Linked DNA regions of Homo sapiens: region 2 is linked to region 1. The links are contacts of gene promoters, found by promoter capture Hi-C in human tissues and cell types (Jung and others, 2019). All regions are on one chromosome and are shown on one strand. The core of a region is centred on a gene start or on the middle of the fragment in contact, and the rest is flanking DNA. Distances in the headings are between cores, read along the strand shown. Region 1 holds the start of TRIML2 (tripartite motif family like 2). Region 2 has its middle 100 kb from the start of LINC01060.

Region 1 (4,460 bases), core at 980-3,479:
GGGTTCAAGCAATTTCCGGCTAATTTTTGTATTTTTAGTAGAGATGAGGTTTCCCATGTTGGCCAGGCTGGTCTCGAACTCCTGACCTCAAGTGATCCACCCGCCTCGGTCACCCAAAGTGCTGGGGATACAGGCATGAGCCAGAGTGCCCGGCTGGGATACGACTGTTATAAGTTCATGAAATGACTCAGGAGAACAATGACTCACTCATTCATAATTGTATTTGTTCTTTGACAGTGAAAAAAAACTACATTTCTTCAGGATTTTCATTTTAATGAAAAGTTTTCCTATGAAAAATCTAACTACCTTAAAATGATCTGTGTTCCTTGTAATGTGATTACTCTAGCCCTATGAAAGCATCTCGTGATAAATTGTCATACAAATTTGAGGCATCTTTTTTGTAAATTGTCAAGCCATTTGATTAATATTTAATAAGGACAAATAATTATAATAAGGAAATATCATGAAATTTGGCACCCGATTCAAATTCCATATCTTCAATTTTCTGCACCCAGTGCTCTTGGTCAATTACTTAATCCCGTGACTTAATCTCTACGTCATCTACTTCATCAGCTGCAGATGTACCTCACGGGGTTGGAGCATGCAACAGGTGGGGCATGTAACAGTAAATAAGGGTTTAGCACACTTTTTTGTAATGTTTTTAGAATTATCTTAAAATATTGACTCTTCTAGAATTAATAATTTAATTATTAATAAATATTTATTTAATAGTAAAACAGGCTTTAATAAGTATTTATTTAAGCATTTAATACTCTAAAACAGGCTTTAAGAGACTTCAAAACCTGACAATATGCTTGATGTTTATTTTCCATTTGATTCAAAGATTACAAAGTTTTCTTGTCAAGATGAGTAAGCTCAAGAGTTATGAAAGCTCAAGGGATGGTGAGAGTAAATGACAGAGTATCTGACAACAAGTATGTGTGAGTATCTTCACAGACGTTGGCCGTACCCAGGCTTAGAAGAGAAAGGAAGATTGGATTAGAAAAATAAGAGAAGTAAAGGAGGATGGACTGGCTGAGGAGGGGAGGGGGCACAGGAATAAATGTGGTCTATTTGAAGAAAGCTGGGGAATTGGGTTTTGGAAAAGAGAGTGGGTGTAGGTAATCATCTGAGATAAGAGAAAGGGTGTATGGCCAGGCGCGGTGGCCAGAACTTTTGGAGGCCAAGGAGGGTGGGTCACCTGAGGTCAGGAGTTTGAGACCAGCCTGGCCAACATGGTGAAACCCCATCTCCACTAAAAATACAAAAATTAGCTGGGTGTGGTGGGCGCCTATAATCCCAGCTACTCGGGAGGCTGAAGTGGGAAAATTGCTTGAACCTGGGAGGCGGAGGCTGCAGTGAGCCGAGATCGCTCCACCGCACTCCAGCCTAGGCAACAGAGTGAGACTCTCATCTAAAAAAAAAAAAAAAGAAAGAAAAAAGAAAAAGAGAAACGGTGTATTGAGATTCCATAAGGTAGAACCAGGTTCTGAAAGATCAGATAAGCAAAGCAGAAGAATTCTCATTATCCTGTCAGCAGCATAAAGAAAAAAACTCCCTGGTTTGATTAGCAGGGGATTGACTGACTGATGCAATAAAAACCCTCGGGGACAAAACTATAAAACTTAGAAAGCTGTGAAGAGTTCCTCCTCACTGAAGCCAAATATCAAGTATGAATTATCTGGGATTGTTCCCTGACCTCCCATCTGTGACAGATTCCATAGGCAGTTATCCCTACTCTTGGTTTTTCTTTCCACAGATACTGGAATGAACACTTCTCCAGCAAACGTTCTAGAAACTAACAAGTCAGGCATTATTTTCTACTAAGGAACAAACACAGTCTTGAGTGTTAGCTCGAAGGCTTCTTTCCTGTGAAATTGTCAATATACACTAGATTCATTAAGAAAGAAAACCCCAAACCTTAAGGAGCTAGAGGTGTTAGGCACTGTACATGGCACTGGAGATAAAACAAGATATTTATCCAACCAAGGTCAGGGCTATTAAGCATTTTCTGGGAGTCCATTAAAAATGTAAATTACGGACCCCACCGTAGATTTCTGGAATCAGAGACCCTGTGAAGAGGCTTGCGTTTTAATAAACTCAGGTGGTTCTAATGAGATTAATTGTGTGAATATGATAAGAAACTTCACAGACGCCTTCCTGATGGTGTGAGGGCGGGGCTGAGGGAGGAATTGAACAGATAAAATCTCTTCAGTCTCCACTGTTCCAGCTTTTTCCCTAAAGGAAATACCTTGGTTCGGTGTGGTGACTCATTCCTGTAATCCCAGTACTTTGGGAGGCTGAAGCAGGCAGATTGCTTGAGCCCAGGAGTTCAAGACCAGCCTGGGAAAAATACTGAAACCCCGTCTCTACAAAAAATACAAAAATTAGCCGGGTGTGGTCGTGCAGCGCCTGTAATCCCAGCTACTCAGGAGGTCAAGGTGGGAGAATCACTTGAGCCTGGGAGCTCGAGGCTGTAGTGAGCCGAGATTGCGCCACTGCATTCCAGCCTGGGTGACAGAGCAAGACCCTGTCTCAAAAAAAAAAAAAAAAAAAAAAAAGGAAATACCCAGGATTGCTACAAAGAAAGTAAGTGAGATTTTCTCTATAGATCATTTTCTTAATAATTGTTTCTTTAGATTTCTAAACTTGATCTTAGAATCTATGTGTGTGTGTGTGTATCTGTGTGTTATCAGGAAAAAGCCTGAAGAAAAATATTAGGAAAAACAAAATAAGGGTAGACAACATGCTGGGGACTTAATTCGTCAATTTTCCTTTGCTGTTTCTGTAAAAATATTTAGTCTCTGTCCCTCTCTCATTACACCTTCAATTTTTACTGGTTTAACATAAAATATCGTTTACAATATTTATTGTGCATCGAGTATGTCAGATGTAGACACAGGGCATCTCAAGGACTTAGTTTCTTATGGATGGAGAGTGACCCACAAGTAAACTTGTTCATAGAAAGATAAAATCTTTTCGCTACTAAGAAAATAAAATAAGGAGATGAGTAGTGGGAAGGTATTTCAAATTGAGTAGTGATGGAAAGGTCTCTCTTGGGAAGACATTTGAGCTGAGAACTGAAGAGAAGAAAGAAGAGGCAGCTGGAATTGCAAAAATATGAGAGAAGAGCTCTGTTGGCCACGGAAGGGGGAAGGGCTGTGATGAATTAGAGGCAGCTAGATTGACAGTGATGGGGGAAAGCTATAGAGAGATCAGAAGAAGGCAGGAGGCCAGATTGTATAGGACGGGGTTATTACCCACTTCGATCTTACTCTAATGCCATAGAAAGTGACCACAAACCTGCTCACTTGGTTTTGGTTTTAAAATAGTATTCTGGTGGTTGAGCAGAGAGGAGCTGGAGATGGACGAGGAGGGCAGGACAGAATATAAATTTGGAAAACAATAGTTGAATTGGTGAAAGGAAGGCTTAAACTGTGGCTCTAAAGGAATGAGTTTGGGGGAAGAGAGCCACTGGGTTGAGATCCTGAGCGGCTTTAGATATGTTAATTTTGAGTGCTCCTTAGACATTCTATTGCAAAAATGTTGGGAATTGGGCAGGAGATTGAAATCGGAGAATGGAACTTAAATCTTCAGAAACGAGTAAGATTACCTAGGGAGAGACCAGGACTGGGAGACCAGAACTCAACCTTGAAGCACCCCAAGATTGAGAGGTTCAGAGGATGTGGGACCAGAAAAGGCCACGGAGAACAAGACCAGACAAGTTAGAGGAATGTCAGCTGCAGACAGATGAGAGAAGAAAACATTCTAGGAAGAAGGGTGTGGTCAGCTATGTTAACTGCTGCTGAGAGCTCAAGGAAAAATTTGAGTTGGTGAATTTCTTTGTTTTGGTGACTCAGTGGAGTCATCTCGGACATGTTCAGGGACCTAAGACACGGGAAACCAGCAGGGATTTCAAAGACCTAAGCAGAAGAAAGGATGAGAGCATCAAAAACAAGGAAGGAGGGAGAAAGTATTTGCAACTCACACAATTTACAGGAACTTGGATCTATAGCTCTCTCTTAAAATTGACCCCTCCCTCCAAAAAGGCCAAACCTGATGGAATAAACTGAGAGAGAGGCTTGAACATAGACTTCACAGCAAAAGAAGTGAAAATGGTTTTTTAGCATATGAAAATAAAAGGCTTAGACATATTAATAATATAACAGATGGAAGTTGAAAATATATGAATACACTATTTCTCACCCAGCCAGTGGGCAATGATCCAAAAGTTTAACATCTTTTTAATTTGTTGCTTGGAGTGCAAAATTGTACAACTTTTGTGCTTGGGAAACTGACAAAACATATCAAAATTATGGATGCATTCATTCACAGTCCTATTTGTGGGGAATATGCCTTTTCAGGCCAAGATTCTCAACTTTTTGGAATCAGTACTCCTTTGCACTCATTATTGACGAAGATCCCAATAAGCTTTTGTTTATGAGCGTTAATATCTATGT
Region 2 (4,460 bases), core at 1,093-3,592, 240 kb before region 1:
AGCCTCTTAAACAGCACCACATAGGTGGGAGTACCATAGCCCACCTGCAAAGCTAAGCTGGTTACCCCAGAAGCACAGTGGAAAGATCAATCTAGCTTAAATCCCTAGATGCTCAGCCTCCATGCTCAGCTTCAGGCTTCCCCCAACTTCCTCCTGCTGAGAAGAGAGATACCTACCACAGAGTATTTTGGCAAAGCACAGGGACTATACTTGCACCACCTGGGCATTTAAGAGGAGTTTGGCTCAACCTAAAAGTCCATCCCAAGAACCAGACCCAAGAAGACCCTGCTCATGGAGTGAGACACCCACCATGGCATATCTTGGCTACATACAGGGGCTAGACCACCCCAGTCTGGGAGTTCAAATAGCAGCTCACCTCAACCTCAAATCCCACACCAAAGCTACATCCAGGCAGGGAAGTAAACCTCAATATTGTGCATTTCTGCCAAACTTAGCAGCTGATCCTGACTCTCCCAATCAGTGACTCAGCCTAAGCTTAGGACCCAATCTGCAGCCCTACCCAAATTCCAAAAGTCAAACAGCAGTACCATTTAACTAGGGAATACACATTGTGTCTTCATCCAATCAGAGGACCCAGCTACCATCTCTGCCTGATTGCAGAACCCAGCCAGTGGTCTCACCAAATAGAAGAGCTCAGATCCATCTGATCTCAAAGCAAAGGCAGAGGCTCAGCAAGCTAGAGAGTCTAACGCCAAGCTCTACCTGCTTAGCGCCATTACCAGGTAGCCGACCTAGAATCACAGGCTAGACTTCAGTGAGAGTATAACTTTGCCAAAGAATACCTGTAAAGGACGGAAGAGGTGACCATTTCTTCAAATGCACAAGCACCAATGTAAGGACACAAAGATTATGAAGAATCAGAATAATGACATCTCCAGAAGAAACAAATAAAGCTTCAACAATAGGCCCTAAAGAAATGGAGAGCTATGAAATAACTAACAAAAAATTAATATAGTTCTCTTAAAGAAGTTCAGTCAGCTATAAGAATATAAGGATAGAAGATTAAATAAAATATGAAAAATAATACAAAATGAGAAGCTTGACAAAGAAATAGGATGTATAAAAACAAAACCCAACTATATGCTACCTACAAGAGACTTACCTCACTATTAAAGATTCAAATAGACTAAAAGTGAAGTAACAGAAAAAGATATTTCATGCAAATGGAAATAGAAAAAAAAATCGTAAAATTCATACAGAAACACACACAAAAAAGCCTGACTAGCCAAGGCAGTCTTGAACAAAATGAACAAAGCTAGAGGTCTTACACTACCTGACTTCAAACTATATTACAAAGCCATAGTAATTAAAACAGCATGACACTAGTATAAACAGAAACACTGACCAATGGAACAGAATAGAGAGCACAAAAATGAACCGATGCCCTTCGTCAATTGACTTTGATAAAAATGCCAAGAACACACACAATGCGTAAAGAACAATCTCTCCCATAAAGGACAATGAGAAAATGAGATATTCACATGCAGACGAATAATATTAGTCCCACCCTATCTCACAGAGTATACAAAAATAAACCCAAAATGAATTAAAGATTTAAATGTAAAACCTGAAATTATAAAAAGTACTAGGAAAACACAGAGGAGAAAACTACACAACACTGGTCTGGGCAATGTTTTTTTTTTTTTTTTTTTATTTGACCTCCAAAAGATCAAATAACAAAAACAAAAATAGACAAGTAAGATTACAGTTAACTAAAAAATATTTGCACAACAAAGAAAACAACTACAAGTGAAGAGACAATCTGCAGATCAGAAAAAAATTTACAAGCAATACATTATATAAGGAACTAATACCCCAAATGTATAAGGAGCTCAAAAAAGTTAATAGCAAAAAAAAAAAATCCAATTTAAAAATGGGCAAAGAAACTGAATAAATATTTTTCAAAATAAGACATGCAAATGGCCAACATATATACATATATATATATATATATATATATATATATATATATAATGCTCAATATCACTAATCATTAGGGAAATAGAAATTAAAACTATGATATATCATCTATCAGAAGAGCTAGCAACAAAAAGAGGAAAGATAACAACCGTGATGGTGAGGATGTGAAGAAAAGGGAACACTGTACACTGGTGGGAATATAAATTAGCACAGCCATTACAGAAAACAGTGTGGAGTTCCCTTAGAAAACTAAAAATAGGATTACCATATGTTCCAGCAACCCTATTCTAACTATATACCCTTAGGACTTGAAATTAATATGTCTAAGAGATATCAGCACTTCCATGTTTGTTGCAGCATTGTTTACAATAGCCAAGTCATGGAATCAATCTAAGTGTCAATCAATGGATAAATGGAAAAAGAAAATGAGATATATACACACAATGGAATGTTCTTCAGCCTTAAAAAAAAAAGAAAGAAAAAAAGAAAAAGAAAGAAATTATTTCATTTACAACATGGATGAACCTGGAGGACACTATGTTAAGTGAAATAAGTGAGGCACAGAGACAAATACCCTGTGATCTCACTCATGTGGAATTTTAAAAAGTCAAATGCACAGAAGCAGAGGGTAGAACGGTGGTTACCAGAGGCTGGAGGGTAGGGAAAATGAGAGGTGTCGGTCAAAGGGTATTAAGCTTTAAACAGGAGGAATAAATGATATATATTTAAAATGGGGAGCCGGGCACAGTGGCTCACGCCTGTAATCCCAGCACTTTGGGAGGCTGAGGCAGCCAGCTCACAAGGTCAAGAGATCAAGACCATCCTGGCAAACATGGTGAAACCCCATCTCTATTAAAAAATACAAAAAAAAAAATTATCTGGGCATGGTGGTGTGCACCTGTAGTCCCAGCTACTTGGGAGGCTGAGGCAGGAGAATCACTTGAACCCAGGAAGTGGAGGTTGCAGTGAGCTGAGATCCTGCCACTGCACCCCAGCCTGGGCAACAGAGCAAGACTCTGTCAAAAAAAAAAAAAGATGGATATGTCATTGGCTTGATTCAATCATTCTAAACTGTGGGCATATATCACAACATCATTGTGCACCCCACAATTACATGCAATTATAATTTGTCCTAAATAAATAAATACAACTTAAACATTTACACTTCAACATTTAAGCCTAAGAACATGTGGGAAATAGTCTGTTTTAGCTCCATCTTTTATATTCCATGAATCCCTGAAGTCCTACTTGAGGAAAATCAAGAAATTTCACAGAAGTTAGAGTCACACAAGCACTGAAAAGCTTGCGGTCACAAAAAACCCATGTACCTCCTCAGCCTTTCTTCTCTGTGAACATGAGGGGCTACCTTAGTGCCAGCAAGATGGAAACCAGAGAGATGGGCACAGCGGCCAATGTGGATAAGAGGAGACAGACCTTTTCCTTGAGACAGAAAGTGGTATGGGCATACATCATAACATCACAATATGATATGAGTGGCATCCTGACAAGCCTTGAGCTAGTAAAGGATGAAAAACAAGAAATACTGTTTTCTCCGAATAACATAACAGTATCCAAATAAAAATAGCCTTATAAAATTATATTTAATTCTGGATTTTGTAAACATATTTTAAACTTGCAATGCAAGTTAGATTTTTAGAAATATGTATTTCATGTAAATTGACATCTCCATTACCTATTTTATTTGAGTATTGCAAATACTTAAAAAGTTTAGTGGAGAATATTTGCTTAGAAGGTAATTAAGGAAATCTTTTTTTAATGAAAGCAATTCATGTATTCACAGTGCTTTCAGTTAATATAATTGCTTAATATTAATGTGCAGCATAGATGGCTTAAATTGGTTTTCATTTGATACAGAGCATCAAAGCTTTCCATCGAGATTAGATTTCACCAAGTAACCTGCATTTCTAGACACATAAAGTGTTTAAAGATAGTTATTGTGGAAACATTTCAACGTAATTGAAAATTATAGTAGACGATCCCTTCACTGGCCTTTGTAGTCAAAGTTAAACTGTTAAGTTGTTACGATGCAAGTATGCCTAAATGTTAGCAATCCTTAGCAAGTCGGTATCACGGTAGAGGCGGACATACAGTAATCATAGGAACATCAAATGAAGGTAGCCTCTTCTTGTATTATGCAGCATCACTCTGAGAACTAGTAATGTTCAAGCTTTTCTACAGATTCAGAGCTGCTTCCTGAAAATAAGTTTGGTCCAGCCAGAAGGACCTCTTGTAGTCCACCTTGTGCAGAAAGAGGGATGAACTTCCACAAGGAGAAACATGAGTTTTCAACTTCCTTTAAACATCTTGTTTGCAGACTGCATGACAAGCATTTAGAGGCCGTGAGTGTGCTTTCAACCAGACAGAAATGCCTTGCTTCAAGGGAAAACCGTGTGTGCTATCTAGTGCACCTACCAAAAGTCCATGGGAGCGAGAGTCTAGAAAGAAAGAAAAAGGGCGTCTCTCTCTTTCCGCCGCTCAAGATGCCGAAAGGAAAGAAG

What was found. Contacts are between HindIII fragments. The study calls those that stand out against the background at their distance.
Region 2: a fragment that was not itself captured here is called in contact with the fragment with the promoter of TRIML2 in region 1 in 2 of the 25 tissues and cell types used here (IMR-90 fibroblasts and mesendoderm cells).

What each region holds. Positions count from the first base shown.
Region 1 is chr4:188,107,372-188,111,831 of GRCh38, reverse strand. TRIML2 (tripartite motif family like 2) reads left to right here and starts at 2,229. Exons shown (of 8, transcript NM_173553.4): 1 at 2,229-2,589. RefSeq lists enhancers at 3,198-3,716, 3,717-4,235. The HindIII fragment of the contact is 13,208 bases long and covers 1-4,460 here.
Region 2 is chr4:188,350,007-188,354,466 of GRCh38, reverse strand. It overlaps the pseudogene RPL7AP27. Among named protein-coding and RNA genes, the nearest start is that of LINC01060, 100 kb to the left of the region's middle. The HindIII fragment of the contact is 3,273 bases long and covers 706-3,978 here.